Regions from separate parts of the Homo sapiens genome. Here regions 2, 3, 4, 5, 6 and 7 are each linked to region 1. Evidence: promoter capture Hi-C in 16 types of primary human blood cells and fetal thymus (Javierre and others, 2016). All regions are on one chromosome and are shown on one strand. The core of a region is centred on a gene start or on the middle of the fragment in contact, and the rest is flanking DNA. Distances in the headings are between cores, read along the strand shown. Region 1 holds the start of TNS3 (tensin 3). Region 2 overlaps TNS3 (tensin 3). Region 3 overlaps TNS3 (tensin 3). Region 4 overlaps PKD1L1 (polycystin 1 like 1, transient receptor potential channel interacting). Region 5 overlaps PKD1L1 (polycystin 1 like 1, transient receptor potential channel interacting). Region 6 has its middle 9.1 kb from the start of LINC00525. Region 7 overlaps PKD1L1 (polycystin 1 like 1, transient receptor potential channel interacting).

What was found. The method cuts DNA at HindIII sites, captures the fragments that hold promoters and counts their contacts. A CHiCAGO score of 5 or more calls a contact.
Region 2: a contact is called between a fragment that was not itself captured here and the fragment with the promoter of TNS3 in region 1, in 1 of 17 cell types (total B cells). The highest score is 5.9, in total B cells.
Region 3: a fragment that was not itself captured here is called in contact with the fragment with the promoter of TNS3 in region 1 in 1 of 17 cell types (total B cells); the score reaches 5.0 in total B cells.
Region 4: a contact is called between a fragment that was not itself captured here and the fragment with the promoter of TNS3 in region 1, in 9 of 17 cell types (total B cells, M0 macrophages, naive B cells and 6 more). The highest score is 24.6, in total B cells.
Region 5: a contact is called between a fragment that was not itself captured here and the fragment with the promoter of TNS3 in region 1, in 9 of 17 cell types (total B cells, naive B cells, M0 macrophages and 6 more). The highest score is 23.1, in total B cells.
Region 6: a contact is called between a fragment that was not itself captured here and the fragment with the promoter of TNS3 in region 1, in 3 of 17 cell types (total B cells, naive B cells and M0 macrophages). The highest score is 14.9, in total B cells.
Region 7: a fragment that was not itself captured here is called in contact with the fragment with the promoter of TNS3 in region 1 in 5 of 17 cell types (total B cells, M2 macrophages, M0 macrophages and 2 more); the score reaches 18.5 in total B cells.

Annotation. Positions count from the first base shown.
Region 1 is chr7:47,580,848-47,583,640 of GRCh38, forward strand. It overlaps TNS3 (tensin 3), which reads right to left and starts at 1,264. Exons shown (of 31, transcript NM_022748.12): 1 at 1,204-1,264. RefSeq lists enhancers at 600-1,137, 1,138-1,675. The HindIII fragment of the contact is 9,706 bases long and covers 1-2,793 here.
Region 2 is chr7:47,384,066-47,386,765 of GRCh38, forward strand. All of the region lies in intron 16 of TNS3 (tensin 3), which reads right to left. Among named protein-coding and RNA genes, the nearest start is that of SNORD151, 79 kb to the right of the region's middle. The HindIII fragment of the contact is 5,773 bases long and covers 1-2,700 here.
Region 3 is chr7:47,354,229-47,356,991 of GRCh38, forward strand. All of the region lies in intron 17 of TNS3 (tensin 3), which reads right to left. It overlaps LOC124901629 (a long non-coding RNA gene), which reads right to left. Exons shown (of 2, transcript XR_007060319.1): 1 at 1-2,763. Among named protein-coding and RNA genes, the nearest start is that of SNORD151, 110 kb to the right of the region's middle. The HindIII fragment of the contact is 8,931 bases long and covers 1-2,763 here.
Region 4 is chr7:47,796,308-47,799,041 of GRCh38, forward strand. All of the region lies in intron 54 of PKD1L1 (polycystin 1 like 1, transient receptor potential channel interacting), which reads right to left. The region is part of intron 1 of PKD1L1-AS1 (PKD1L1 antisense RNA 1); the gene reads left to right. Among named protein-coding and RNA genes, the nearest start is that of PKD1L1-AS1, 2.4 kb to the left of the region's middle. The HindIII fragment of the contact is 632 bases long and covers 1,048-1,679 here.
Region 5 is chr7:47,775,167-47,777,976 of GRCh38, forward strand. The region is part of intron 56 of PKD1L1 (polycystin 1 like 1, transient receptor potential channel interacting); the gene reads right to left. Among named protein-coding and RNA genes, the nearest start is that of LINC00525, 15 kb to the left of the region's middle. The HindIII fragment of the contact is 2,591 bases long and covers 231-2,810 here.
Region 6 is chr7:47,750,993-47,753,692 of GRCh38, forward strand. No RefSeq gene overlaps it. Among named protein-coding and RNA genes, the nearest start is that of LINC00525, 9.1 kb to the right of the region's middle. The HindIII fragment of the contact is 421 bases long and covers 1,050-1,470 here.
Region 7 is chr7:47,823,258-47,825,957 of GRCh38, forward strand. All of the region lies in intron 45 of PKD1L1 (polycystin 1 like 1, transient receptor potential channel interacting), which reads right to left. Among named protein-coding and RNA genes, the nearest start is that of PKD1L1-AS1, 29 kb to the left of the region's middle. The HindIII fragment of the contact is 4,787 bases long and covers 1-2,700 here.

The DNA.
Region 1 (2,793 bases), core at 14-2,513:
TTAATACAATGAGTTCTGCATTCATACTTTTCAGTATATTTTCAGAGTCCTCCATGATCATGCATTCAAATAGTGAAAAAAATGGGGGGAAAGCCAACCCGGAAGATCAAAGTGTGTGAATGCGCCCCAAGGAAGCCTGGGGGCTTCCCAGGGGGTTGTGACCACCCTCAGTAGTGCTCTCTGCTGGCCCCACACCCTGATGGCGCTTTGAGTTTTTCAACCACGCTGGAGTTCGGGTCATCTGCTGACACTGTCTGGAGAATGCCTGAGGAACGCCTGAATCTCTTCCCGCCACAGACACTCAAATCACTCCAAGCAAAGGACCCGGGACTCACATGTCAGGCCGCTGCACAGCACCGACACAGAGACCCCTGGGCCGTCCGGGACCCTCCCTCCTCCTGCTTGTCAGCGACAGCTCCCGCGTGCCAGGAGGCACATGCCACACAGCTGGCCCCCAGCCTGGGACAGCACCCCCCACCCCAGAATATCCCCCCACCCCGAGGTCCCGTCCTTCAGGGAAAAAAAGGAAGCGCGTAAAGACCCCCTGCCTCCCACCCACCAAAGGGAAAGGGAAAGAGACGCACTGGAGAGCTTGCCTAGAAAAAGTAGGAGAAGGGTCTTGAGCCTGCCCATTGAAGCCCCTAGCTGCGCTCTCCACCTGGAGTCTCGAGACGGAGTCCTAGGGAGCAAAGTCCGCTCGGTCCCGACAGCGACTGCGACATAGCTGCTCCGGTCTCTGCCCTCAGTCCAGGGCGCCCGGGCGCCACGGGTCCCACTCGAGTGGTCCTGCGCCCCAGCCAGTCCCCAAACCCAGCCAGTCAGCGCCCCCGTCCCCGGACTCCGGCGAAGCTGGCCCGCGCCCCAGCCCCTGTCCTGGGACTCCTGCCGAGCCCCCGCCCCCCACGCGCCGCAAACCCCGTACCCGCGCGCACCAAACCCCTTGCCCGTGCGCCCCCAACCGGGTCCCCGCGCTCCCTAACCTGGGTTCTCCCGTGACCCCATCCCCGCGCCCTGAGCTCCCGTACCCCGCGCTCCCCGAACTCTGTCTCCGCGCTCCCCGAACTCAGTCCCCGCGCCCCAGCTCCAGATCTCTGTGCTCCCCAAGCCTCGTTCCTGCGCCCGGAGCGCGAAAGCCCGCGCCGGGCCCGAAACAAAGAGGACCGCGGCGCGTGGCCGCGTTTCCTCCTTCCCCGGCCCCAGTACCTGGGGGAGCCTGAGGCGCGGTCCGGCAGGGCGATGGCCGCAACGAGGCTGGGCTCCGAGTAGCGCGCGGGCGGGCCCGTCCTCCTGGCTGGCTGCCGGCGCCCGCGGCAGGGCCCCCTCGAGGCGGCGCGGGCAATCGCCACGGCCGGCCCCCGCGCCCGCGCCCCGAGCCTGGCGGGTCACCTGGCCTCATCACCCTAACAATGCAGCGCGCCTCCAGGCGCCCTTCACCGGGGTCCCCCGCCCTGCCGAGGTGCGCCCTGGGACCTCCCTTCGCTGGCCGCAGAGAGGACCTGGAATTATCAGACCCATTGAGCAGCCCAGGCTCCAAGTGGTCTGGAGGCTTGCAGGTTCCGCCGGGCCGGTGTTAGAGTACCTGGGGAGGCGGGTTCGGATCCTGGTTCCTGCACAACCAGTTCATTCTTTCATTCAGCGCCTGTGATTAAGGTGCTCTCCGGGAGCAAGACCTACCCTCCCTCCTGTAGCTCATAGCCTAGTGGGAGTCGCGCATACATAAAGGAGCACAGCCGCTCCGGAAAGCCTAGGGTGCCGTAGAAGCCCCTGAAATACCCAGCTAATGAAGGGAGGAGGTCAGGGAAGTCTTTAGAAGTCACATGACTTCTTAAAATGCGCCGGGACAAATGAGCAGAATTTAGGCAAGCCAGGGGAAACCAGAAAAACGATCCCGAGCAGAGAGATTCTCAGAGGAGGAAAGGCCTATAGGTTGTCCATCCTGACTGTCCATCCCTGAGATTCAGATGGCCCTGAACTCAGTCGCTTAGCCTCAGTTTCCCCATTTGTGAGATCGGGGGAATGGAAAAAGTTTGCAGAAATCAGAAGTGCTCTTCCTCCAGGGAGGTCACAAGAGAAATTTCATCAGCGGTTTGTCCTGTGGTCCTTTCCAGGAAAACATCCTCCCCGCCAGCCTCTCACAGAAGAGACCTAGATTTCATCTGCCACGTGGAGCAGGCGGTCTCAGAATCCCACCCGGAGCAGGGTCCAGGGCAAGTCTTGGAGGACAGTCACCAAGAACTGCTTTGGATTCGGGAACAGAGCTGCCTAACCCATCCGCAGCCCTGGGGTCCTGCCCTGTTCCTCTGGCCCCTTCAGGGCAGCGGGGGAAGCAGGGAAAACAGCCTGTCAGAGATGGCAGAGAAACCGAGCAAGAATAATTATCCTGGAAAAGACTTTCAGAAGTAACCACCAGAAACTTCGAGTCCCCAGATCCAAACAGCTGAGAATGTGGGGCCTGAGCCACGCTCTGACTCCACTCCCACCACATGAGGAGAAACAAGAGCTGCTTTTCTGGAAGACTTGAACAACCCCTGCTGTGCTCTGGAAGGTAGTGTCATTTCTCATCCCCAGACTGATCTGGGTATTTATTCCCAGGCAAAGGCTTCATGAGCACCATGCCCCAGCCCCTAGAGATGAGGCAGGCATTTTTCCTACACTCTAGGAGACACCAGGTCAAGAGTCAATGAGATGAGTCAAGGGGTGCCAGGGAAGATGCCATAGGGGAAGGTGGGGAGGAGGTCACAGCCAGCTGGGTTAGGAATGGGGGTGAGGCTGGTACTGTTACGATCTCCTTTG
Region 2 (2,700 bases), core at 81-2,580, 200 kb before region 1:
CTCCAGCCCGTGACCACCCATTCTCCCCCCACTGTCTCCACCGTTTGCTCCTCTCCCAACTTTCTTTCCAAGGACTCATCCTCCTGAGCTGACATCCCTACCTGTCCACCACACTGAGCCTGTGTGATCCCTGCTCCAATGTCAGGCCCCTCCCCACCCACATGGGCAGACAGGCCCGTCCCAGGGGGTCTCTGGAGGGGCAGCTGTGTGCCTAGAGGCCGGGAAGGGGCAGCCTGTGCCTCCTGCACTCCACTTCAGAACACTTTCACCCAAAACTCATTTCTCTCTGGAAACTGGTACCCCTGGCTACAGCGTTCTCCAGCCCTGCGGGCTGCCATTGCCCCTCACTTCCCAGCCCATCCCCCAAACGTCCATGCCTCCCTTGGTCCAGGTTCAAACACTCTCATCACCGGCATTTCTGTGGCTTCTCCTGGGAAACCATCAACATTTTATTGAGGCCCTGGCCTTGACTCTTTGGACTTTAGATAACTTTCTTTGGTTTGACTTTAGAATTTCTCATGACATACCCTCAACTTCCACCAAACTTTGAAAGCCTTGAGCTCTTCAGGAGTGGTGGCCAGGACTCTCCTTTCTCTAGCAGCCGCTACAGCTCCCTGGCTCCTGCTCTTCTCTGCATGTATCCAGCCCTTCCCTCAGCACAGTGGAGTCACAGCCAATGTATGTTTAACTCCAGCACCAAATTTAAGACATCGAGGGCAACACAGATCCATGGTGCTTCCTCTCCTAGCCCATCTAGACCCACAAGGCCTGCTGTCTCCCTCGCCTGTGGCCCACGTCCATGCCCCTGCTGATGTGCATGCCTCTGAAATCACAGAGGCCGTAACAGTGTGGCGTCCACACATCACTGGGCACACCACACTGCTCACCCAACAACCACCTGTTGCCAGGGGAAGCTCCTCCAAGCTGTCCCAGCTCTCAACACCTCCACTCCCCAGACTGTTGTCCACTCCCAACAGACAACCTCGCCTGCCTTGTACAGGTCAAGTGACGCCACAGCCAGTGAACTCACTCCCAGTCTGCTCTCTACCCTTCTCTGCATCCTGGCTCCTGCACCAGGCACCCTGCTTTGGACACACTCATGGTGCTCTCAGTCTCCTGCCTCTGTCAATCCAGTCCCTGCCTGAACTGAGCTCAGCACATCAGCAGAAGGAGATTCACAGCCGGCGACCAAGCCCCCACTCTTGGCTTCACCAACTAGCCCTCTGACCCCTCAGTGTGGTAAAGATTAGATATGTTAATGCAAGCTGCATGCTCGGAAGGTTGTGCAGCTCGTGAGCAGCACTCAGCAAGGGTGAGCTCTGACAACAACAACCATTAGCCATTCCAGCCCTGTCCTGGCCTCTGCACGGAGCTGTGCCATCCAATTCAGCTCTGTATCTGCAGCATCCAGCACTGCCGATGCTCAGAGAGGCAGGGAGGAGATGGAGACTGCATCCTGGATCCTACAGAGCCTGCCTGACAAGCACACGTGGCCTCTGGTTTTCTTTCATGAGCTTCCCAGAAGGTGACACTCTGCCTTCACTCCCCAGGTGACCTATTGGAATCCTCCGATTTATGATTAACAAGAGAGCAATATATTACATGTACAGGAATAAAGAATGAACTCCCAATACTACGAGAAAGATGGTTTCCTCGCAGCCTCTTCCCACCCTCAGGAAAGCACCCATAGTGCCCATCACTCGGTGGCTCCCCCGCCGCTTTTCCTTCTGCCTCATCCTAGTCAGGGGCCCAGCAGCATCCCAGACTCACTGCTACGAGTTCAGGGGCAATGTATGGCTACTGCTGCCACCAAAGGACGGCTGTTGAGATCTTGGCAGAATTCCCACAATCAATCAACACCAAATCTTGCTATTGCTCTAACCGTTTGGCCTAATTTCAGTGAGAATATATCCCAGGTCATAAATTAGCTCACATTCACACTGACAAAAATAAATACTATTGAATTTTCATAGTATAATTTCCCATAGACTGTCAACACCATGAATCCTAAATTAATTCAACTTTCCATAGTGAAGTCTGAAAGACTACTATGTCAAAGGGTGTATTTTCCTTGTTAAGAAATCATCACTATGCACTTATAAAGAAACACTAAACACATCTCTGGCTCTTGCTATGTGGAAGAAAACTTCCTGGGAGCAGTTGTACCCTCCACCTAGGCCCTATCAACTGGAGGGGGTCCCCCCACATCCACAACAGGCAGGTGCAGGCGGAGCGCACACAGGACATTTGCTGGGGACGCCCTCCTCCTGTCCACAGAAACCTGTTTTCCCAGCTCCTGGGGTCAATGGCTTTCCCTGCACTTCGCATCAGTCTCTCGGGCCCTAGGGATTTAAATCTGGGCTCCCAGCTCCAGAGCAACTGTCACTGGGTGTCCACCCTCGACAGGCCTTGACCTTGGCTCCCTCTCTGTGACATGCTCTAATAACACTCCTGGCTCACATAGCAAAGTGGTCACCCTGTCTCTTACCCCGATCCATGGACCTCCATGCCAGGTCTCCCCGACAGACAGCCAGGCAGGCTCTAGGTATATGGCTGTGCTGAGGCAACGAGCCGAGGCGGTCTCAGCTTTGCTCAGCCTGGCATGCGTCCCCATCCAGCACAGTGTCCACAGGGGGAAAGGAGTGCTGTGAAAACCAGCTTTCATCCCCAAAGTAGGTCAGAATTGCTCCTATCGGCAAG
Region 3 (2,763 bases), core at 112-2,611, 230 kb before region 1:
GGAGCAGGAGAGAGCTGCCACCACACAGATGGCTGTCACCTCTGGAAGGAGCTGATAAGGGGACAAGAGGGAATTTGCCAGCACTGGAGAGCACCTGCAGGGCTCTGGGCGATCCGCCCTCCCACCCCCAGCTCCCCAACGTACCCCTTCTCAGAAAAACCAAGGAGAAAGGGAACAAAACCCAAGCTCCCACACAGGGATGTTCACGGGCAAAGGGCAGCTCCCAAAGCCCTGGGGTGGGGCAGGGGGGCACCTGCATCTGGCTGCACCCATGGCACACACACCCTGATCTCTCACACCTGTGCCCACCCTGCTCCCAGCCTGAGGCCCAGGTGCTGGGGAAGAGCTGCCCTTACTTCCCTGCCAGTTCCCAGCCAGGAAAAAAAAAAAAAAATCCTGCATCCTCTCCTTACAAAGGTCATGAGTACTCAGTGCAGAAATCTCAGGCCCCTTGAAACCCCCAGTGAACACAGACCCCGGTGATCTGCAGGTGATGTGCAGCTTCACCCACTCCATGCAGCTGGGGTCTCTGTGGAGGGAGGGACAGGCAGTGGCTTTTTCTTTACACAGTCTTGTGCCCCTCTTGTCGCGGTGACACGCTCATTGTCCACCAAAACATGACATGGTAACATGGTCTCCAAAGGTCACATGACTGGACGCTGCCCATCTCTTTGGGCAGTCCCCACACCAGGCATTTAGCTGTCTTCGCCCAAGCCTCCTTCCCTCCAGACACTGGGTGCTACCCACCCAGAGCCTCGGGAACCACGTGACCTTGAGTATAAAATGGGACACATGCCCCAAAGTCCCCTACACTGCCACTCCCAAAGACCAGCATGTTTCCTCATTTAGCAGTCTCACTGTTATTCACGGGTGGAGCCGGCGTCAAGGACAGATAAGGAAACGTGCTGAGGGCTGCCCAGCCAGCAAGTTGCGCAGGGTCACCTGAGACTCCGCCACGCCCAGCGGGATCTGGGATTCACCACAGGGTGCAAAAGGACACCGAGCCTGCGAGGCAGGAGGACGCTCAGTCATTCCGGCCCCACAGGAGGAGCTGGGGATGGTGGGGCCTCAGCCCCAGGTGCATCCTATGACGTACCTTATCCAAAGCCACCACAACAGGGTGGGGGACGGTCCTGACAGGGAATCCTCACGTGCTCTGAGGAAAGAGCAGGAAAGCCAGTCCTTGACTGGGGGCACCCAGGGGCCTCGTGAGAAGGGGATGCATCGCCGTCAGAGCCCTGGAGAATCAGGGATTCAGGCCAAGACACTGGGTGCTGTACTAAACACATGTGGGACTGAACTCAGCCCAGCCTGGGGGTCAGCACTGTTGCCATCAATTCACCCCTGAGCAGTCTGAAGTGCAGGAGAGGGCTTCTCAGATCGCTTAGCCAGAAAATGTTTTTTAAATTTTGTTTAAAACACCCACAAAGCTCTTCGGCAACTTTCCACCTTGTCCAAATACACTGAACTCCCAATTATGTAAACTAATTGAGAGTGTAAAATAACACATCCTGATAGGTAAGTCAGTACTTATGTTGACCCTGAGCTGTGATTCTGTGATTCAGACTGCTCTTGGAGACTGATCTTTGCCAGCGCACGGCCTGGCAGATCCCAGGCCCTGAGGCTCTGCTGGGAAGTGGGATGAGGGAGGGGAAGGAAGATGGGTCAAGTGTTCAGGAGCGGACACCCACCATGCTGCCCACTCACACACTTCATGTCACTGCATTCTCTCCACTGTGGGGTCACATAGCCCACTCTGCCCTGGTGAAATAAAGCCAGCACCCAGGTGGAAGGCAGCCCATGGGGTCGCCTGCCTCTGCCTCTGATAACCAATACGTGACTGTTGGCTGTCCTCTAAATTCCACAGCAGGGTCACAAATCTTAGAACCACCCTGCGGCACGTTCCAGCCTCAATGAGCCAAGGGCCAGCTCTCCTGGAGGCTGGGACACGCACCTAAGTTGAGAACTGCAAATATACAACAGTGGTTCTCAAAGGCCATTGTCCACCTTTTATCACTAAAATCCTAAAGCTCGGGCCTCACCTGTGAAGTCAGAACCTCCAGCGGTGAGACCTAGGTGTCAGTATTTTTAAAAACTCCCTAGTGTTTCCAACACACAACCAAGCTCAAGAATCACAGCAGGTCTCAACCCTGAATTAGCACTGCATTATTTGGGGAGCATTTTTAAAGCAAGTCTGACATCCAGGCCCCACCAGGGCCAACTCAATCTGCCACCCTCTGGAGGTAGAAGCAGGTACCCACATTTTTAGCGTCTGCATTTTTAAAGCTCCCCAGGTGACTCCAACATGCAAGACAAAGTGTCCAACCTCTGTTCTAAAAGAGACGGAATCCGCTCCCTGAGCAAATCTTCAGGATGCAATATTGACTAAGACAGTAGACCTTAGGTGCTCTTACACAAAAGTAACTAGGTAAAGTGGTGGATATGTCCATTGGTTTGACTGTAGTGATCCTCTCCCTATGTATAGATATAACAAACAAAATATCATGTTAAACACCTTAAATAAATACGATGATAAATAAGTTAATTAAAACATAGAAAAAACAGGGGCCGGGCACAGTGGCTCACGCCTGTAATCCCACCACTTTGAGAGACTGAGGAGGGTGGATCTTTTGAGCCCAGGAGTTCCAGACCAGCCTGGGCAACATGATGAAACCCAGTCTCTACAGAAAAATACAAAAAAAAAAAAAAATGATCCAGGCATGGTGGCACATGCCTGTCGTCCTAACTACTCTGGAGGCTGAG
Region 4 (2,734 bases), core at 114-2,613, 220 kb after region 1:
AGGAAAATACCTCTCCTGAATTGAACTAAATGGCAGTAAGATGATCTCAGCAATGGAAATTCATTGTATTATAAAGGTTGTTTTCAGTATCTAACTTTGGAGACTGAGATTATCAACGCGATGTGCATGCCCATATGTAAAGTCTGTGTCTCAGTTTCAGTGTCCCCTGGTGAACCATTCTGAGCTGTGGGTGAGCCTCAGGAGAGAGGCCTGTGCCTGTGCCTGGGAGACCAGAAAGGGTCTTGGGCTCAGCAAGTTGTTGTGCCCTCAACATGTGCTCTATAAGCCTCCAGGTGGTTTATTTCTTCACTGCAGGCTGTAAGCTGTTAGCTCAAAAGCCTACTGGTAACAAACTCGAATTTTTACACATCCAATTGTTTAAAAAATAACCCAAACAGGGCTGGGCGCAGTGGCTCATGCCTGTAATCCCAGCACTTTGGGAGGCCAAGGCAGGCGGATCATGAGGTCAGGAGATTGAAACCATCCTGGCTAACATGGTGAAACCCTGTCTCTCCTAAATTACAAAAAAAAAAAAAAAAAAAATTAGCTGGGTGTGGTGGTGGGCACCTGTAGTCCCAGCTACTCGGGAGGCTGAGGCAGAAGAATGGCGTGAATCCGGGAGGCGGAGCTTGCAGTGAGCAGAGATTGCGCCACTGCACTCCAGCCTGGGCGACAGAGCAAGACTCCGTCTCAAAAAAAAAAAAAAAAACACCCAAACAAACATTTTAGCCATTTAGAGCCTGTCAGCTTTACACACCCTGCAAAACCTCAGGGGACAGCTGTTACCCACTGATAATGTTATAAGGCCCCAAGCTGCTGCTGGCTTCAGGAGCTTTCTGACCCAGAGCCTCCCCTCCATGCTGCTAAGCAGCATCGTCTAAGGGGTAAGCTCTCTCTCTGCTGCCCCTCTCCCCTGAGATCGCCCTTGCTCTTCTTCCTTTTTGGATGGTTCTTGGCCCCTACGCTGTAAACCTGTGGACAGTTTCATAGCATGAAGTATGAGGGAGTTCCCCCACATGGAAACACTTCAAAACATTACCCAGATAAAGCTTGTGTGTGTTATCATCTCTTGTGGTCATATGTTTGTTCTTGATTGGTCCCCAAATCCCTCGAACCCCTCACAAAATTTCAGAACTCTGCAAAGATGCTCAGGAGCCTGAAAGGGTAGGCCATTGGTGTGTAGGTCTGAGGCCTCCTGGATTTACCAGCAACACACCCATGGCAGACAGCAAGACCTGACTCTTCCACCCAGAGACCTCAATGCAATATTGCCTGCCTGTCTCAGAAGATAGCATCCAGGTGCCTAAGCACGACATTCAAGGCCCTCCATTCCTGACTCCAACCATCCTTTTCAACATAATGCCCACTTGACCCAGAACTCCAGCATGGCCCTCCCTGCATGCCCCCTGTCTAAAATGCTGCTCTCAGCAGTCATCACCATGAGTGGAACTGCTCATCAAGGCTCACTCTCCTGTTGTATGAAGATTTCCTGGTCTCCCTAGGAAGAATAAATGAGTCTCTGATCTAAGTTTCTTGCTCTTTGAGGACACTTCTAGTTAGGCTTTAAAATTGCCTATCATTGTGTAGGATCTGTATGCTGAGAACTATAAAACAGTGATGAAAAAAATCAAAGAGTATCTAAATAAATGGAGAGAAATACAGAATTCTAGGATCAAAAAAGCTTAATATTATTAGGATGCCAATTCCCCCCAAATTTGATTTATAATTCCACAGCAAGTTCAATCAAAACACCAACATGATTTTTTAAAAAGATAGTAACAAGATGATTCTAAAACATATTGAAAGGCAAAAGAGCTAGAACACCTACAGTCAAAACAGAACAAAGCTGGAGGACTCATCCATGCTACTTTAAGATTTGCCACAGAGTGAAAAAGACCTCATGGGATTGGCTAAAGGAAAGATCAATGGAGTAGAATAGAGAACCCAGATATAGATCCACACAGATACAGTCAATTGCTTTTTGACAAAGTTGTAAAGCCAATTCAATGGAGTAAATATTCTTCAAAAAAATTGTGCTGGAAAAATTGGATATTCATTTATAAAAAACAGGAACTCTGTTCCATACCTCACATCTTACATTAAAATTAGCTTAAAACAGATGATTAACCTAAATGTAAAACATAGAACTATAAAAATTCTAGAAGAAAGGCCACGTGCAGTGGCTCACGTCTGTAATCCCAGCACTTTGGGAGGCTGAGGCGGGAGGATCACGAGGTCAGGAGTTCGAGACCAGCCTTACCAACATGACGAAACCCTGTCTCTACTAAAAATACAAAATTAGCTGGGTGTGGTGGCACACGCCTGTAATCCCAGCTACTCAGGAGACTGAGGCAGGAGAATCACTTGAACCTGGGAGACAGAGGTTGCAGTGATCTGAGATCACGCCACTGCACTCCAGCCTGGGCGACAGAGTGAGACTCTGTCTCAAAAAAAAAAAACAAAAAAACCAAAAACAAAGAAACAAAAAAAATTCTAGAAGAAAATAATAGGAGAAAATATGTGACCTTGGGTTTGGCAATTCATTTGAGCCAGGACACCAACAGCAAAATCCATAAAAGAAAACATTGAAAAACTGGCCTTTATCAAAATTTACAACTTCTGCTCTGTAGAGATGCTGTTAAGAGAATAAAAGGAGAAGCTACAGATTTACAAATCACATATCCAATTTAAAAACTGTATTCAAAATATAAAAATTGCCACAATTATTTGTATA
Region 5 (2,810 bases), core at 276-2,775, 190 kb after region 1:
CTAAAAAGAAAAAATGAAAAACATACTGAAACAACACCCCTCTCTCAGTGATTGACAGAACAAATAGGCAGAAAGGCAGCAAGTGCTGATCAGACCTGAACACCACCATCAGCTAACTTGACCAAGGTGACATTTACAGAACACTTTGCTCAACAACAGCAGAATACAAATATTTTAAAGTTCAAATGAAACATCTGCCAAGTTAGATCATATTTTGGGCCATTAAAACAAGCTTCAATAACATTCAAACGATTCAAGACACAGGATGTTCTCTGACCACAGCAGAATAAAATTAGAAATCAGCTACATAAGGACATCAGGAAAATCTCAAAATACATACAAACTAAATAATATACTTCCAAATCACCCATGAATCAAAGAATAAATCAAAAGGGAAATTAGAAAGTATTTTTATCTCAATAAAAATGAAAACATATCATTTTCATTCAGGGATGAATGCTAACGCAATACTCCGAGAGAAATCTGTAGCACTAAATGCCTATATTAAAAGAAGAAAGGTCTTAAATGACCTTAGCTCTTATGTGAAAGACTATAAAAAGAAAAACAACTTAAACTCAAAGTAAACAGAAAAAAGTAAATAATAAATAAATACTAAAGATCAAAGCAGAAACCAGTGCTGTAGATAACAGAAAAAAAAAAAAAATAGAGAAAACGAATGAAACCAAAAGCTAGTTCCTTGAGAAGATCAATTAAATTGACAAGCCTCTAGCCAGGATGATAACAACATATCAAAGACACAAATATGTTGTCTTTGAATAACAACAACAACAAAGACACAAATTGCCAATATCAGGAATGAGAGAGGTGACAACACTACACTTTTTACAGATAAAGGATAAAATGGAAATATTATGAACAACTTATTCCTATACATTTCACAGCTGAGATGAAATAGAAAAATTCCTTAATGATACACATTACCAAAGTTATCTCAAAAAGAAATAGATAAGCTGTATAGTCCTATACTTCTTTAAAAATTGAATTCATAGTTAAAAAGTTTCTAATAAAAAACTTCAATTCTAGATGGCATCTCTGGTGAATTCTATCAAACATTTAAGAAAGAAATAGTTCCAATTCTAGTCAAACCCATCCGGAAAACTGAAGCAGAGAGAATATTTCCAAATTTATTCTAGGAGGACAGCGTTATCCTGATACTAATATGAGATAAAGACATTACAAGAACAGTAACAAAAAAACAAAACCCAGGGTCCCCCATTGTCACTGGCTGCTTCTCCCTTGAGGAATTCTCCTCCAGGTCTCTCAGCTCCAGCTCTGATGCACCCTGATTTGCTCCAGCAGCTGACTCAGCATGGCCCCAAGCCTAGCGCATCTCCACACCTGTTTGCTCATTTGCTTTTACTGGATTGTGAGATGGCTGAGGAATTTTTTTCTTCATACCCCAGTGCTGAGAATGTAGTAGGTATTTGGTAAATATTATAGGATTCAGTTTTGAAGCTGGGAGGTAGGTTGAACATAAGTGTTACCAGAATCCAATTCAACCTGGAATGCTGTGATAAACATAGGAAGTCTAACAGGAATAATAATGAACTGTATTTATGACCACGCAATAAATAGCACCATTATGGAGAGAAAGGTACAGGAGCAAAGACATTGCTCCGCAATAAAATTTAAGGATGGGTAGGGAGGTGTTGAGACCTCCAAAGATCCTACTGGTTGACACTTAAATTCTTTTTTATTTTTATTTATTTATTTATTTTTTTTGAGAAGGAGTCTTGCTCTGTCACACAGGCTGGAGTGTAGTGGTGCAATCTTGGGTCACTGCAACATCCGCCTCCCAGGTTCAATCAATTCTCCCGCCTCAGCTTCCTGAGTAGCTGGGATTACAAGCATGCGCCACCACATTCAACTAATTTTTGTATTTTTAGTAGAGATGGGGTTTTGCCATGTTGGCCAGGCCGGCCTGGAAATCCCAGCCTCAAGTGATCCGTCCACTTCAGACTCCCAAAGTGCTGGGATTACAGGCGCGAGCCACCACACCCGGCTGACACTTAAATTCTGACTATCCCAAATGATTAGTCTAAATTAATCATGATAATTCCATTTCACCATGATCAATTTAGGAATGAGTTTGAGGGAAAATATTCTTGGGGACTTCCTGAAAAAGTTTCCTCATATCTAATGATAAGACCGAAGGAGATGGTCTCCTCCTTCCATGGACATTTCATCTTTGGATGTGATCCCTGGACCTGTAGCAGATATCCTGCAACCAAGCAGGGTGTCCTCCATCCTGAGGCAAAGCCAGCACACAGCAGAATGCAGAGATGGCATCTGCCCTACCTCTCAACTTCTGGTTTTGTAGATAACACATTTCCTTGCAGTTTCAGTCAATTAGGGTCATGTTTTACATCATTTACAGTCAAAACTATTGTCAAAGGTTATAAATAATAATATAATTGGGGGCTGCATTAGTGTAAGTATAGTTTCTAAGGCAAGTGTGAAGTGTGAGAAATTAGTTAGGTAAAAGCCATGCTGCTGCTATAACAAAGAGCCCCCAGATTCCTCAGAGCAAAACAGGATCCAGGTTTATTTTTCACATAAGCAGGGGGAAGTTGGCACAGTTCTCATCCTAGAAAGGCAGCTCTGTCATCTTCAGCACAAGGCTTCTAATCTTGCTCCAGGTATCACTCACACTTGGGAAAGAAAAAAGAGCATGAAAAGGCACATGCCTGATGCCTTCAGGAGCAAGTTCAGAAGCAGGACACATTGCTCTCTATAGGGGCTGTGAGGAGCTGCAGGGGAGGTGGCGTCAGTGCCTGGGCAGTAGCTGG
Region 6 (2,700 bases), core at 10-2,509, 170 kb after region 1:
GTGATGTGAAAGAATCCCATCAAGCAGGGCTGGCTGTTCTGTTGAATTTCACTTTCCATTTTGGAACAAAGTATTTGAGCTCATTTTCTTGGAACTGATTACTGTGCCTTGGGGCAGCATGGTACATAAAGCAGTCGATGTTGTATAAATATATTGCGCAGCTTCATTGCAGAAACCTCATCTCGGAGGAGGCACAGGTTTTCCAGATTGAAAGATAAATTAGAGACACAACAGGAGGTGGCCTTCAAAGATGTGGTTCTTGTGGTGGGCTACCACAAGGAGCTAGAGCAAGGCAAAGAAGGGCTTAGAGCAAGCCAAAGATGATTAGGAAAACACAGAGTGATAACTGAAAGAGAGAACGTGTGGTCCTGGGGAGGACGGTGATGAAGACAGGGTAAACTCTTGTGTGCCTACCAAGAACCTCTAGGGATCTCTAGGTCACAGAAGGCTGCCCTCTCCCTCAAACGAGAAGTGTCCTCCCTGGAGGAGGCTCTGCTTGTGAGGTGGTGTGGCTGATGGGCCCAGGCAATGCCAGACTCTCTTGCTGTAGATACCAACCCAGATTTACTGGGGAAATGTACAAGCAGAACTGGCAAGAAAATTAGGTGCGCTTTCCTCCAAGAACTTATATGACAGGCTGGGAACAGTGGGGATAACCTGGGGTCCTGGTGGTGGGAGATGAAGCCAGCTGGACTTCCTGGGTCGAGTGGGGACTTGGAGAACTTTTCTGTCCAGCTAGAGGATTGTAAATGCACCAATCAGTGCTCTGTGTCTAGCTAGAGGATTGTAAATGCATCAATCAGCACTCTGTAAAAACGCACCAGTCAGTGCTCTGTGTCTAGCTAAAGGATTGTAAATGCACCAATCAGCACTCTGTAAAAACGTACCAATCAGTGTTCTGTGTGTAGCTAAAGGATTGTAAGCACACCAATCAGCACTCTGTAAAATGGACCAATCAGCAGGATGTGGGCGGGGACAAATAAGGGAATAAAAGCTGGCCACCCCAGCCAGCAGCAGCAGCCCACCGGGGTCCCCTTCCATGCTGTGGAAGCTTTGTTCTTTCACTCTTCACAGTAAATCTTGCTGCTGCTCACTCTAGGGGTCCACGCCACCTTTAAGAGCTGTAACACTCACCATGAAGGTGTGCAGCTTTATTCTTGAAGTCAGCAAGACCAAGAACCCACCGGAAGAAACCAACTCCTGACATAGTAGGAAATGGAAGCCATGCACACCCCTTTCCCATGGGGAAGCAGAAGGAATCCTCCACCCCTGCTGTGTCTCAGCAAACCACAGAGGTGCCAGGTGGCCACTCCTCCACCACCTCTGTGTGAGAGAAGCCACTTCAGATCCACACTCAATGGTGAGAACCAAAATAAACAAATTGATCGGAACTACAGGACTCTACTTCATTTCTTTTCCTAGAAAGGATTTGATTTAACATTTACTTTTTCTCATTTTTTTTTGTTTCAAAGCTTATAAAAACATTGAGAGGCTAATACATTGAATACCTATATAAATGTCACCTGATTCACCAAATGTTAATGTTTTTCAACATTTGTGCTCTCTCTCTCAATCTCTTTCTCTTCCTTCTCCCTGTCATATATATTTAAACATATCTTCACTGATAGATAATAATTGTACATATTTCTGAGCTACAGGTAGTATTTTGCCACATGTATATACAATGTGTAATAATCAAATCATGCTAATTAGGATATTCTTCACCTCAAACATTTATATTTTCTTTGTGTTGGAAGCATTTCAGATCCACACTCTAGCTATTTTGATACATATTATAAATTATTGCTAACTAGTCACCCTACTGTGTGACCAAACACTAGAACTTATTCCTTCTTCTATTATATTTTTGTACTCATGAATTGACCTCTCTTCATCTTCCCCCTCCCACTACCCTTTCTAGCCTCTGGTAACCCCCATTCCACTCTCTATCCCCATGAGATTCACTTTTTTTTTTTTTTTTGAGACAGAGTCTTGCATGTCCCCCAGGCTGGAGTGCAGTGGCGTGAGTTTGTCTCACTGCAACCTCTGCCTCTCATGTTCAAGCAATTCTCCTGTCTCAGCCTCCTGAGTAGCTGGGATTACAGGTGCCCGTCACCATGCGTGGCTAATTTTATTATTTTTAGTAGTGACGGGGTTTCACCATGTTGGCCAGGCTGGTCTCGAACTCCTGACCTCAAGTGATCTGCCCACTTTGGCCTCCCAAAGTGCTGGGATTACAGGCGTGAGCCACCACACCTGGTCGAGATCCATCTTTTTAGCTCCCACATATGAGTGAGAACGTGTGATATTTGTCTTTTTGTGCCTGATTTATTTCATTTAACATAATGACCTCCAGTTCCATCTGTGCTGCCACAAATGACAGAATTTAATTCTTTATAATGACTGAATAATATTCCCTTCTGTATACGTACCACATTTTCTTTATCCATTCATCTGTGGATGGACATTTAGGTTGATTCTCTATCTTGGCTGTTGTGAACAGTGTGACAGTAAACATGGGAGTGCAGATACACCTTTGATATTCTAATTTCCTTTCTTTTGAATACATACCTAGCAGTGGGATTGCTGGATCATATGGTAGTTCTATTTTTAGTTTTAGGAGCAACCTTCATACTGTTTTCCATAGCGGTCGTAAGAATGTACATTCCCACCGACAGTGTACTAGCGTCCTTCCTTCTC
Region 7 (2,700 bases), core at 181-2,680, 240 kb after region 1:
TTGCTGAGAGGTTCTTTTTTTTGGATGAATTAATGTTGAATTTTATCAAATGCTTTTTCTGCCTCTATTGAGACGAGCATGTGGTTTTTCTTATTTAGTCTATTAATATGGTGAATTACATTAATTACTTTCCTCCTCGTGTCTCTTCCAGTCCATAGGTATCATCTTTATTTATTTTTGCTTCTTTGCGATTTATTTGTTGAGCAAGTGGTTATTTGTACTATAGATTTCTGTCTTGCTTTCCAGGGTGATATCAACATACTCTTACTGTAAACTACAAGTTGGCAAAATAACTTCATCAGATTAAGATTGGACTGTTTTGGGTAGGTTGCCTCATAGATGATGGTGTTTTCCCACGAGGAAACACATAATGTCTGATGTTTCTCTCTCTCTCCTTCTCTCTTTTATATTGACCACTGTTAATGAGCAATGCCCAGATTCATTACTTCATTAAAACTGCAAAAATGGTCAGGCTCTAATTCTATTACCTGGTCCCCATTCATTAGCTGGAATTCCTCTCTAAAGAGAAATATCCCCCCTCCTGTTATGTGGTTTCCCAGGGGTATGGTCTGTATAGGAAAGGCAGGCTTTCACTGGCTTTTATAAAGTTGGTTTCTGAGTGTCCACCAACATTGATCAATTACATTGTGGGTGTTGTTACCAGCTCATGGCTTTAGATAGATTTCATGAACTTCAATTCAGTAGTTTCTAATCTTGATGTCAAATTATCCCATGTTTGACCAATGTGAGCCTCTTCAAACTGGCTTCTTGGTCCTCTGACAATGACTCTAGCAGTTATTAATTGCTCCCTTGCCTAAGAAACATTCCAGGTTCATCTTGTACATTTTCCATCACCAACTTCAAATCAGGAATCCCAGTTACTTCTAATTCTTTTTGGTGGACCAAATCTAGGTGCTAAAAGTGTGTGTTGCTTCTGGGCTGTTTCTAGGCCTTTTCTTGCTGGAAAAATCTAGGAAAATATTTTTAAAAACCCACATGATTCCATACCTATACTTTCAATTCAAATTCAGGACTGCAGAGTTTTGACTTCCTTGAACTCAAATCTGTACCTTCTTTCTCTCATATCAAGAATTCCACTTTTAAAGGATACCAGGAATGACAGAATTAGAAAATAACAGAATTCTTCATTTCCTTTACCCCACAATAAATCAACAATGAAAATAAAGATACTAACGCTCCACTAACAATATGATTGGTGAAAACAGCTTTAGAGTTTTTTCCCCTAGTTCTTTTCCGTCCTTAGAGACTAGGTTTATATGGTCAAATTTTTAACCTTAACACAGATTTAAAAAAATCTTATTCCTTCTCTCCCCATAAGTAACTATTATTATTTCCTAAAGGTGCCTGGATTGCCTTTCCCTTGTTTTATTTAGGGTGAGCGGATCTACAGGCACGCATATTCTTGTCCCCTTTCATTAAGCAGTGGGCAGAACAGCATACCCGCTTTCCTCTACCTGGCTTCCCTCCTGCAGCGAATCCTGCAGGCCTCTCCCTAGGAGCCTGGAGGGGTAGTCTTCATGCTTCTACATAGCTGGACACTACTACACTGTGTTCCTGTCCCTCCAGCAAGACGTGTGGGTTCTTTCTAGGATATTCTCATTACAAAAGGTCCCACATAAATTGGTTTGTGTGTGGGTATGTTCATGTTTTACTTACTGTGTCTGTAAGAGTGATTGTAAAAAGTGTGGATGCTGGATAAATCGTAAATGAATCTATCATTGTGTAGAGACTTCAAATTTCCCCCATAGTGGCTGTACCATTTTGCATTTACACCAGCACTGTGTGAAATGCTCTATTTGACATAGCCTCACTAACAGAGTATGTGGTCACATTTTTGGATTTTCACAGTTTAATTTGCAATTCTCTTACTGTAAGTGAAAGGGCCATTTGAACTTCTTTTATTCTGTGAACTCTCTGTTCACTTTTCCAGTCCACTTTTTTTTTGTTTTAAAGAGTTGCTGGTCCTTTAGGCCAGGTGTGGTGGCTCATGCCTATAATCCCAGCACTTTGGGAGGTTGAGGTGGGTGGATCACTTGAGGTCAGGAGTTCAAGACCAGCCTGACCTACATGGTGAAACCCTGTCTCTACTAAAAATACAAAAAATTAGCCGGGCATGGTGGCACATGCCTGCAATCTCAGCTACTTGGGAGGCTGAGGCAGGAGAATCGCTTAAACCTGAGAGGCGGGGGTTGCAGTGAGTTGAGATTGAGCCACTGCATTCCAGCCTGGGCAACAAGAGCGAAACTCTGTCTCAAAAAAAAAAAAAAAAGAATATTAAAACTTTGTTACAAGTATTTTTTCCTAGTTTGTCACTGCCATTTTATTTTACAAATAGTTTCTTTTTACGTAGGAGTTATTTCTTTCTCTTCTTCAAGTTTTATGTAATCCAATTTACTTTTATTTTCCCTTTTTGTGTCTGGATTTTAAGTCATAGGGAAGTTTTCCTCACTGAAATCTTAGAGAAACTTATACTTAAGATTATGCCTAAGTGTATTTTGTTGTATTTATTATTTGCTTTGTTGAATATGGTCTTGTATTAAATCTCTGACTTTTGCTTGTATATAAATATGATATTGGTTTTTGTCTTTTAATTTTATAACCTAATACTTTACTAGTTTTGCCTGTTTCCTAAATGCTTTCTCTGGGCCTGTTCTGCTTGGTTTGGATGCTTCCCCCAGC